Linked DNA regions of Homo sapiens: region 2 is linked to region 1. Evidence: promoter capture Hi-C in 16 types of primary human blood cells and fetal thymus (Javierre and others, 2016). All regions are on one chromosome and are shown on one strand. The core of a region is centred on a gene start or on the middle of the fragment in contact, and the rest is flanking DNA. Distances in the headings are between cores, read along the strand shown. Region 1 holds the start of SLC25A45 (solute carrier family 25 member 45). Region 2 has its middle 4.2 kb from the start of ZNRD2-DT.

Region 1 (4,954 bases), core at 1,489-3,988:
CCCGGTAGGTGGTCTGGGTCTGCAGCCTCACCTGGGTGGGAGGACAGAGCAGGTAGGGTGGCGGGATGGGCAGGTGGGCCAACCTTTCCCTCTGCCCCCTCAAGCGGGATGCCAACCAGCAGGAGAGGCAGGAAAGGCAAGATTAGCCAGGCCTGATCTCAGGGCACCCTGACATTTGGGTCAGGTGAGATCTTTCATTCCTCTGGCAGCTCTCCTAAACTCACCTTTACAGTGTCAAACGGGTGTCCCAGGACCAAGCCCAGAGCGCCTGTGGTGACAAGAGGGTGCTATGAGTGAGGGCCCTCGTGCCAGGCCCAGGAAGCAAGTCTGTGCCAAGAGGAAAGAGGGGTTCAGGCAGGAGGAAGGAGAGCAGGGCCATCTCAGACACATGCAGCCACCTTCCTGCCAAGCTCTAGAGACTCCAGCTGCCCCTGCCACCCCCTCCACACAGGCACTGGGCCAGGAAGGCACTGGGACAAGGGACTAAGACCCCAGGCCCCACCTGAGGATGCACACCCAAGAGGGAAGAGCCAGCCAAAGACGTACGTGTCCTCGCTGGAGCCCATACCCGGGTATCCCACCGCCTATGAGCCGCGGGACTCTGGGAGAATCACCCAGGTTCCCACCTCTCCGAGAGCTTTACTCTTCTTTCTTCAACTCATAATGTCGTCGCCGGGATCCAGAGCAGGCCCTGCTGCCAGCTGGCCACGCAGAACTGCAGGGCCCTGATGGGGGTCATGCCTGGGCACCTGCAGAGGAGCTTCTCCCCTCCCCTCCACCTGCCCACTGCCTAGCCCTGCCCTCCACAGCAGAGGCTGGTTCTGGAGTTTGGGGGAGGTCGCACCCCCAGGAGGCAGGTTCAGAACGTCCCTCTCTTTCTCCTAAGAGGAATGCCACCCAGAAGCTGGGCTGGGACCACAGCACAACAGGCCTCAGGGCCCGGGACTGCGGCCCACAGCCAGGTGGGGCAGAGGCCCAGAGGGGACTCAGGACAGCAGGTGAGGTCAAAGGTGAACTTCCTTTGTAAGCCCAACAGGGTGGGCCTGGAGAGCAGGGCTCAAGGTATAGGGTGCTCACCTGGCTCTCCCGCCCTCTGCAGGTGTCAGGCAGAGTGGCCTTGGAAGGCAGAGGCAGCACCCTCCCACCTGTGCCTTCCTCTCTTCTTCCCATCGGCCACTCCCCAGAGGACTGGGGACAGCTGGCTCTGGGGTGCTCCACGGAACCCAGACTTTTTTTTTTTGACACAGGGTCTTGCTGGTGTTGTCCAGGCTGGAGTGCAGTGGCATGATCATGGCTCATTGCAGCTTCAACCTCCTGAGCTTAAGGGCTCCTTCCACCTCAGCCTCTGGAGTAGTTGGGACCACAGGCGTGCGCCACCGCGCCTGGCTAATTTTTGTATTTTTAGTAGAGACGGGGTTTCACCATGTTGGCCAGCCTGGTCTCGAAATCTTGACCTCATGATCCACCTACCTCAGCCTCCCAAAGTGCTGGGCTTACAGGCATGAGCCACCGCGCCCAGCCTCTCATTTCTTATAAAGACAGGGTCTTCCTATGTTGCCCAGGCTGGTCTCAAACTCCTGGCCCCAAGTGATCCTCCTACCTCAGCCTCGCAAAGTGCTGGGATTACAGGTGTGAGCCACCATGCCCTGATTCTTTTTTTTTTTTTTTTTTTTTTTTTGTGGCAGGGTCTCATTCTGTCACCCAGGCTGGAGTGCAGTGGTGCAGTCATAGCTCACTGCAGCCTTGAACTCCTGAGCTCAAGCAATCCTCCTAAGTAGCTGGGACTACAGGTGTGAGCCACCATGCCCAGCTAATTATTTTGATTTTTTTGTAGAGACAGGGGCCTCCCTATGTTGCCCAGACTGGTCTCAAACTCCTGGGCTCAAGTGATCCTCCCGCCAGGCCGGAACTCAGACTTTGGTCTCTGCTCCTCCCATGTCACCCATCTTCCCGAGGAAGTGACCTACCATTGGGTGTGATGTGACAGAAGGAAGAAAAATGTCTCACCAGAGATCCAGCCAGCCACAAATTCCTCCACCGGCATTGTCTGGGCTTGCGGGAACTGGTGGCTCCAGCAGAGGAGACAGAGTTGAATTCCCCCCTCTCCCTCCCCTGGCCCACGCTGATAACCTCCCACTAATGTTTAACCCTGGCGGGAAGGTGAGAATTGGCCTGGTGCCCAGACCTCCGGCAACTGGCAGAGGAGAGCGAGCCAGTTCCGGTGACCCTGGCCACCTGGAGGAGTCGTGCAGAGTACAGTCTCACGGGCCAGGCGTGCCGGGACCACAGAGGCCCTGATCCCCGAGCCCGGCCAATGATCCTCGCTCTGAGGATGGCAACTGGGTTCCTGCCCCATGGTCGGGCCCCTCCAGGGCTGCCTTAGTCAGCAAGAGGCAAGCCCCTGCCTGCCCAGCCAGCCCAGCTCCACTCCCATTCATCTCCACCAAGGGGCATGGCCGCCCCCATGCCACAGAGAGAGGCCGGGTGCGGAGGTAGCGTGGCCACCAGGGGGTAGGCCCAGCCCGCATTTGCCGCTGCGTGGCAGGGTGGGGAGGAGCCACTCCCAGGAGTGACTCACCAGGCCTGGCTGTTCTCTTCAGGGTTGTTTACGACTCCCCCGACTCCCCCGTGTGAGTCAGAAACACAGCCTTCCTCGGCTTCCTCCTTCCCAGGGGAAAGATAGGGGTTTTGATTATTTAAAGTGCGTGTTGATCTGCAATGGCACCATTCTGCTCAGTCAAAACCAAAACCCTTTCAAGGATCTGTGAGCCACAGGGTGCCGCCCATTCTCCTCTGACCTCACGTCCTGCCACCCACCCCCTTGCTTTCTCTGCTGCAGCCACCCGAGCCTCCAGACTCTTCTTCAGTCAGCCTTCTGTCTCCAGGCCTGTGGACTGGCTCTTCCCTCTTCCTGGGCACTCTTGCCCTGGCACCCCTCCAGCTGGGGCTCAAATGTCACCACCTGGGTGAGGTCTGCCCCGCCTCCCCAGCCGGAGGCACTGCTGGCTCTTCCTCTCTTTCTCCATCACAGTTATCACGCCAACATACGATGGGAAGAACTTGTCTGTCTGGACAGGGATCTCTGGGTGTTCTGTGCACAGCGGGTGGCACAGGGTGGGCTCTCAATAAATCCTGAGTGACTGAATGAACGGAAATGTCAGCCAGCAGCATCAGCGGCAGCCTGGGGCTCCAGTTCCCTCTTCCCATCACCAAACGGCCCTGGGAAACATCAAGGCCCAGTGACACCTGCACCCTCCCCTCCAGATCTCCCCGCAGCTCCTAGTCTCCCATGGGGGACGCCCAAGGCCCAGTCCTTCTCTCCCTTCTCCTCTCACTGTGGCCAAGGCAGAACCCACCCACCCCTGCTGCTTTCTCCCGGGTGGACAGATTCGGGAAACAGGACCTCCTACCTCCTGCCTCTGGAGCTGCCTGGGGCTCCTTGGGCCACCCCCAAAGATCATCCTAAAAGACCATCCCCAAAGACTGGCCTCTCGTGGTGGCTTGGGCTGCAGTCCTGGTTCTGCTTCTTATTCCTGAAACTGCCTTTGCAAAAACTATAACTGATACAGGCCAGGCGCAGTGGCTCACGCCTGTAATCCCAGCACTTTGGGAGGCCGAGGCGGAAGGACCACCTGAGGTCAGGAGTTCGAGACCAGCCTGACCAACATAGTGAAACCCCATCTCTACCAAAAATACAAAAATTAGCCGGGTGTGATGACGGGCGCCTGTAGTCCCAGCTACTTGGGATGCTGAGGCAGGAGAATCGCTTGAACCCGAGAGGCAGCTGTTGCAGTGAGCCAAGATCATGCCACTATACTCCAGCCTGGGCAACAGAGCGAGACTCCGTCTCAAAAAAAAAAAACAAACAAACAAACAAAAAAAAAACCCTCCTGTCTCTCGTACAGCCAGCTCTGCATGAATTAAACTCTCCTTATTGCAATTCCCCTGTCTTGACAAATTGGCTCTGTCTAGGCAGAGGGTAAGGTGAACCCAATGGGCGGTTACATTATCTCTCTCAGTGATGTTGAGCAACCTCTTCTGTGGGCCTTGGGGTCTATTATTGTTTGCCAAAGTAGGACAGCAGTCGGGCTAATTGATGTCTAAGCCTCTCAGCTCTAAAGGCTGGAGGCCGCCTCCTCCCTCACTTCAGAATGGGTCTCATTCTCTTTTCCAATCTCACCGCCTCACCCCAGTTTGAGAAAGACCCTCATTCCCACTTCCCTACAGCCTTGCTGAAGGGAAGCCCACCTAAGCATGGCGTCATCTTGTGAATCTCTAGCTCACAACCTCCAAAATGTTCTTACTGTCTAACACGCCTGCCCCATATCTGTCATCCTGGGGTTCAAGGCCTCCCCCATGGTGCCACCCACCTGCTATGCTCTCACACAGCGGGGGTCTTTCCTGGGGTCCTAACCATGCTCGTGCAGTTCCCACTACCTGGAATGCCTTTCCTTCCCCACCATCAGCCTCCCGGACTCTCTCCCAGTGCCCCTCCTTGACTAGACCCGGGTTCTAGCCTCCCCACCACCACCGCAGACACTCCCAGGTGTCAGTCTTTGACATAAAACAGAGATGTGATACTCACCTCTTAGTGAGTTCTAAGGATTAAAGCACTTTAAAAAGTGGCTGGCACGTAAATGGCAACTGCTAATACTTATTTCCACTCTCAGGACGCATGAGAATGACACAGGAAACAGGGGAAAGGGCCTGGCCCAGTGCCCCACACACAGCAAGTGAGCAGAGACTTTTCCTGCCTGTAGCATTTCATAGTTCTTAAGGCAATGCTGTCATCTTCTGTGGTTTTATTTATTTTTTTGGAGACAGAGTCTCACTGTTGTCCAGGCTGGAATACAGTGGCAGGATGGCGCTATCAGAGCTCACTGTGAGCTCACACTCCTGGGCTCCAGCGATCCTCCCACCTCAGGCTCCTGAATGGCTAGGACCACAGATGTGT
Region 2 (5,188 bases), core at 1,249-3,748, 180 kb after region 1:
GACTTGACGAAGGTTACACAGCCAGCCATCAGCAGAGCCAGAACCTGAACTCAGGGCTCCTGATGCCATGTTAAGGGATTGGCTGGACAGGGTGACAGCAGCTGCATGATGAAAGTTCTGTCTCAGGAGGCCGCATTGCAGTGGTTGTTTTCTAGCATTAGATCATACTGGCTGTGTCATGCACCAGCTAAGTGAATTGGGAAAATTCTTCAACTTCTCTGTGCCTCAGTCCTCAACCCCCTACCCTTCCTTTTTTTTAGAGACAGTCTCTGTATATTGCTCCGTCAATATAGAGTCAAACTCCTGGCCTCAAGTGATCCTTCCCGCTCAGCCTCCTGAGTAGCTGTGATTACAGGCACACAACCCTGCACCTGGCTTTCCTCATTTTTAAACAGGGAATGAGGCCAGTCTCAGTGACTCATGCCTGTAATCTCAGCACTTTGGGAGACCGAGGTGAGCAGATTGCTTGAGGCCAGGAGTTCGAGACCGGCCTGGCCAACATGGCGAAACCCTGTCTCTGCTAAAAATACAAAACATTAGCTGGGTGTGGTGGCGCACACCTGTATTCCAGCTGCTTGGGAGGCTGAGGCACAAGAATCGCTTGAACCCAGGAGGCAGAGGCTGCAGTGAGCCGAGATGGCGCCACTGCACTCCAGCCTGGGTGACAGAGTGGGACTCTGTCTCAAAAAAAAAAAAAAAAAAAAAAGGCCGGGCACGGTGGCTCACGCCTGTAATCCGAGCACTTTGGGAGGCCGAGGTGGATGGATCACAAGGTCAGGAGATTGAGACCATCCTGGCCAACATGGTGAAACCCCATTTCTACTAAAAATGCAAAAATTAGCCAGACGTGGTGGTGCGCGTCTTAGTCCTCAGGAGGCTGAGGCAGGAGAATTGCTTGAACCCAGGAAGCAGAGGTTGCAGTGAGCCGAGATTGCGCCACTGCACTCCAGCCTGGCAACAGAGCAAGACCCCGTTCCCCCCCACCAAAAAAAAAAAAAAAAATTAACAGGGAAGTCCGGGTGTGGTAGCTCACACCTGTAATCCCAGCACTTTGGGAGGCCGAGGTGGGTGGATCACTTGAGGTCAGGAGTTCGAGACTAGCCTGGCCAACATGGTGAAACTCCATCTGCCAAAAATACAAAAATTGGCTGGATGTGGTGGTACACGCCTGTAATCCCAGCTACTCAGGAGGTAGAGGTTGCAGTGAACCGAGATCGTGCCACTGCACTCCAGCCTGGGCGACAGAATGAGACTCTGTCTCAAAAATAAAAATAAAAATAAAAATAAGCAGGGAATCAGTGGGCTGATATTTATGAAGCCCTTAGCAGATGCCTGCCAAATAGTAAGCACTCAGGATATGTGAGACCTTTTCATCATTGTCTGGATCTGCAAGCCAAGATGGGCAGGGTGGTGAGAGACGGGCTGCTGGTGGAGAGCCACCGTGCCACGAGGGCTGACTGTGTGTCAGAGGCTGTGCCGCCTCCATGTGTTGTCCCTCTGAGTTCTGAATGTCTTTGGGAAGCTTCTGGGCTCTGAAGAAAGAAATGGCTCTTGGCGAGGGGGTGGGTGGGTAGAAGGGAAGGGGGTCACACTCATCAGTTTTATTTTTTTTTTGAGACAGAGTCTCACTCTGTTGCCAGGCTGGAGTGCAGTGGCACAATCTCAGCTCACTGCAGCCTCCACTTCCTGGGTTCAATCGATTCTTGTGTCACGGCTTCCTGAGTAGCTGGGATTACAGGCAGCCACCACCACCACTCCCAACTGATTTTTGTATTTTTAGTAGAGATGAGGTTTCACCATGTTGGTCAGGCTGATCTCGAACTCCTGGCCTCAGGTGATCTGCCCGCCTCGGCCTCCCAAAGTGTGGGATTACAGGCATGAACCACTGCGCCCGGCCTTGCTCATCAGCTTTAAAGATGAGGGATGGAAGTGATGAAGGCCTGGAGGGGACAAGGTTGCCCTAAAGCATTTCTCTCCAAAGACACTTTACTGAAAGTGGCTATTAAACCCCTCTAATGTGCCACTTACTGTGGGTAGTAAAACGATGGACACTGAGAGTTGGGATTGGAAATGAGATGAAACTACCTTCACGCTTGATAAATCAGGGGGCCCTTCTGCCCTGCCACTCTTCCCCGCCTTTTGAGCACGGGAGAAATCTACTGGTAAGAGCTCAGGCTCAAGAGGTACACTGGCTGCCAGCCGGGAGCCCCAGCCCTGCCACTCCCAACTGGGTGACTGTGGATACATCTCTCACTACTCCAGGCCTCAGCCTCCTCATTTGCAAATTGGGAATGATGATAAGACCTAGCTGCCAGTGTTGTCCTAAGGAATAAGCGAAATACTTCATAAAGAGCTCTTAACACAGTGCCTGGCCCAAAGAAAACACACACACCAAGTTGAGTGTGATTATTTTTATTGTTGTATCATCCAGCCACTTCCTGTTTCACAGAAATGTCAAGGTGATTCACATTGCAGTGAAAACCAAAAAAAAAAAAAAAAAAAAAAGAATAGCTGACCCCTTTTCAGTGCCTGTGTGAAAATACAAATGATAAGTTACGTTTTTCAGAGGCCAGGCAACATGGCATAGGCCACTTGTTGCCATGTGAACCATCCCCACCAAATCAGCCAGCCCAGGGGGAGCTGTAATTGAGCTGTGCATGACTGAGCTGCTGTGGGGTGCTCTATCACCCAGAAAAGAGCCTAACTACAGCCATGTCATCAGTGCCACAAGGAGGGACCAATTTGGACTGGCTCACATGAAACTGTGATTCCCTTCCCTCCCCCTCCCCCTCCTCCTTTCCCTCCTTTCTCTTCCCTGACTCCATGCTCTGTTGCCCAGGCTGGAGTGCAGTGGCAGGATCTCCACTCACTGCAACCTCCGCCTCCCAGTTCAAGCAATTCCCGTCTCAGCCTCATGAGTAGCTGGAACTACAGGCTCGCACCACCATGCCCAGCTAGTTTTTGTATTTTTAGTAGAGATGGGGTTTCACTATGTTGGCCAGGCTGGTCTCGAACTCCTGACCTCAAGTGATCTGCCAGTCTTGACCTCCCAAAGTGCTGGGATTAAAGTTGTGAGCCACCATGCCTGGCTGAAGGTGTGATATATTGTCGGCAAGGGAAGGGTGTGAAAGAGCCCAAGCCCATTGCTCCACAGACACTGGCCTGTCCACTGTGACTGCTGCGAATAGGTTTTACCACCAACACCTGTGAGCACCTTCTATGTCAAGGACTGTGAAGCATCTGAGATCTTACCCACTTGCAAGCTACCAAGGTAGCCCGTCAGGTTCAAGAATGCTGGCAGAATACAGGAGAGTCCTGGGTCAGAGACAAAGGACTTGATCGCTGTGCAGCAAACAGCATGAGCACCAGCATATTTCCGTTAGTTCCTTTTGACCCTAAGTCCCATGGGGGTGATGCTGATGGGCTCAGGCAAGTGTGGGCACACAGAGCGAATTACATTGTGGGAGAGGACCCTAAGCTTAGGAAACTCAAAGCCAGTAAGCATGGCTGTCCTTTGCTCTGGAGGGAGACACTATCTCCATCTTCCATAGCTGTTCCCTAGATAAACATCTTTGAAGCTGGCGCGGTGGCTCAGGCCTGTAATCCTACCACTTTGGGAGGCTGAGGTGGGCAGATCACCTGAAGTCGGGAGCTTGAGACTAGTCTGGCCAACATGGTGAAACACCGTCTCTACTAGAAATAAAAATTTAAAAAATTGGCTGGGCGCGGTGGCTCATGCCTATAATCCCAGCACTTTGGGAGGCCGAGACGGGCAGATCACGAGGTCAGGAGATCGAGACCATCGTGGCTAACACAGTGAAATCCTGTCTCTACTAAAAATGCAAAAAAAATTAATCGGGCGTGGTGGCAGGTGCCTGTAGTCCCAGCTACTTGGGAGGCTGAGGCAGGAGAATGGCGTGAATCCAGGAGGCAGAGCTTGCAGTGAGCCGAGATCGCACCATTGCACTCCAGCCTGGGCAACAGAGCAAGATGCCGTCTCAAAAAAAAAAAAAAAATTAGCCAGCTGTGGTGGCGCATGCCTGTAATCCCACTCCAGTGGGTGAGGCACAAGAATTGCTTGAACCTGGAAGGTGGAGGTGGCAGTGAGCCGAGAATTGCGCCACTTCACTCCAGGTTGGGTGACAGAGACTCCATCTCAAAAAACAAACAAGCAACAAATAGGCATAAGTGGCCCCATTTTTATTTTGAGTCAGGGTCTCGCTCTGTCACCCAGGTTGCAATGCAGAAGCCTGATCATGGCCCACTGCAGCCTGGATCTCCTGGGCTGGGAGCAATCCTCCCACTCAGCCTCCTGAGTAGCTGGGACTACAAGTGCATGCTACTGCACCAGCTAATTTAAAAAATACATATATTTCTTAGAGATGGGTTCTTACTATGCTGTCCAGGCTGGTCTCAAGCAATCCTCCTGCATGTCCTCCCAGAGTGCTGAGATTATAGGTGTGAGCCACAGCACCTGGTCTACTGGCCCTGTTTTACAGATGAGAAATTGAAGTCCACAGCGATGAAGTAAACTACTCCAGGTGATACAGTAAATAGATCCAGGATCAAACCCAGGCCTGCCTCATTCCAGTTCTGCGTCTTGTCCACCCTACAGTGGAACTTAAGATGGTGAGAGGCCCTGAGAGGAGAAAAGGGACAAGAGTCCTCTTGAGCAGTGGGAGAAGAGGGATGCAGGAAGGATGGGAGATGTGTGTGCATCTCTCTATGTGTTGTCTGGATTTGGGGGGTCAAGGACCAGATTTATAGGACCTTGGAGACCATAACAAGGACTTTGGATTTTTGTCTAAGTGTGATGGGAGATGCCAAATGGCTTTTTTTTTTTTTAGATAGAGTCTCACTCTGTTGCCCAGGCTGGAGTGCAGTGGTGTGATCTCGGCTCACTGCAACTTCTGCCTCCCGGTTCAAGCAATTCTCCTGGTTCAGCCTCCCGAGTAGCTGGGATTACGGGCGCCCGCCACCACACCTGGCTAATTTTTGTATTTTTAGTAGAGAAGGGGTTTCACTATGTTGGCCAGGCTGGTCTTGAACTCCTGATCTCAAGACATCTGCCCGCCTCGGCCTCCCAATGTGCTGGGGTTACAGGCGTGAGCCACAGTATCGGGCAGCCAGATGGTTTTTAGTACAAGAACGACACTGTATTTTAAAATAATTATTCAGTTTCCTGCTT

What was found. Contacts are between HindIII fragments. The CHiCAGO score rates a contact against its expected background, and 5 or more counts as called.
Region 2: a contact is called between a fragment that was not itself captured here and the fragment with the promoter of SLC25A45 in region 1, in 1 of 17 cell types (neutrophils). The highest score is 5.3, in neutrophils.

The regions. Positions count from the first base shown.
Region 1 is chr11:65,379,908-65,384,861 of GRCh38, forward strand. It overlaps SLC25A45 (solute carrier family 25 member 45), which reads right to left and starts at 2,739. Exons shown (of 7, transcript NM_182556.4): 1 at 2,579-2,739; 2 at 2,008-2,062; 3 at 225-268; 4 at 1-31. The coding sequence starts at 2,044. It also overlaps a transcript of FRMD8 not described here. RefSeq lists enhancers at 1,848-2,376, 1,925-2,054, 2,042-3,241, 2,185-2,464, 2,377-2,904 and 4 more and a silencer at 3,871-4,165. The HindIII fragment of the contact is 16,084 bases long and covers 1-4,954 here.
Region 2 is chr11:65,563,637-65,568,824 of GRCh38, forward strand. No RefSeq gene overlaps it. Among named protein-coding and RNA genes, the nearest start is that of ZNRD2-DT, 4.2 kb to the right of the region's middle. The HindIII fragment of the contact is 1,956 bases long and covers 1,521-3,476 here.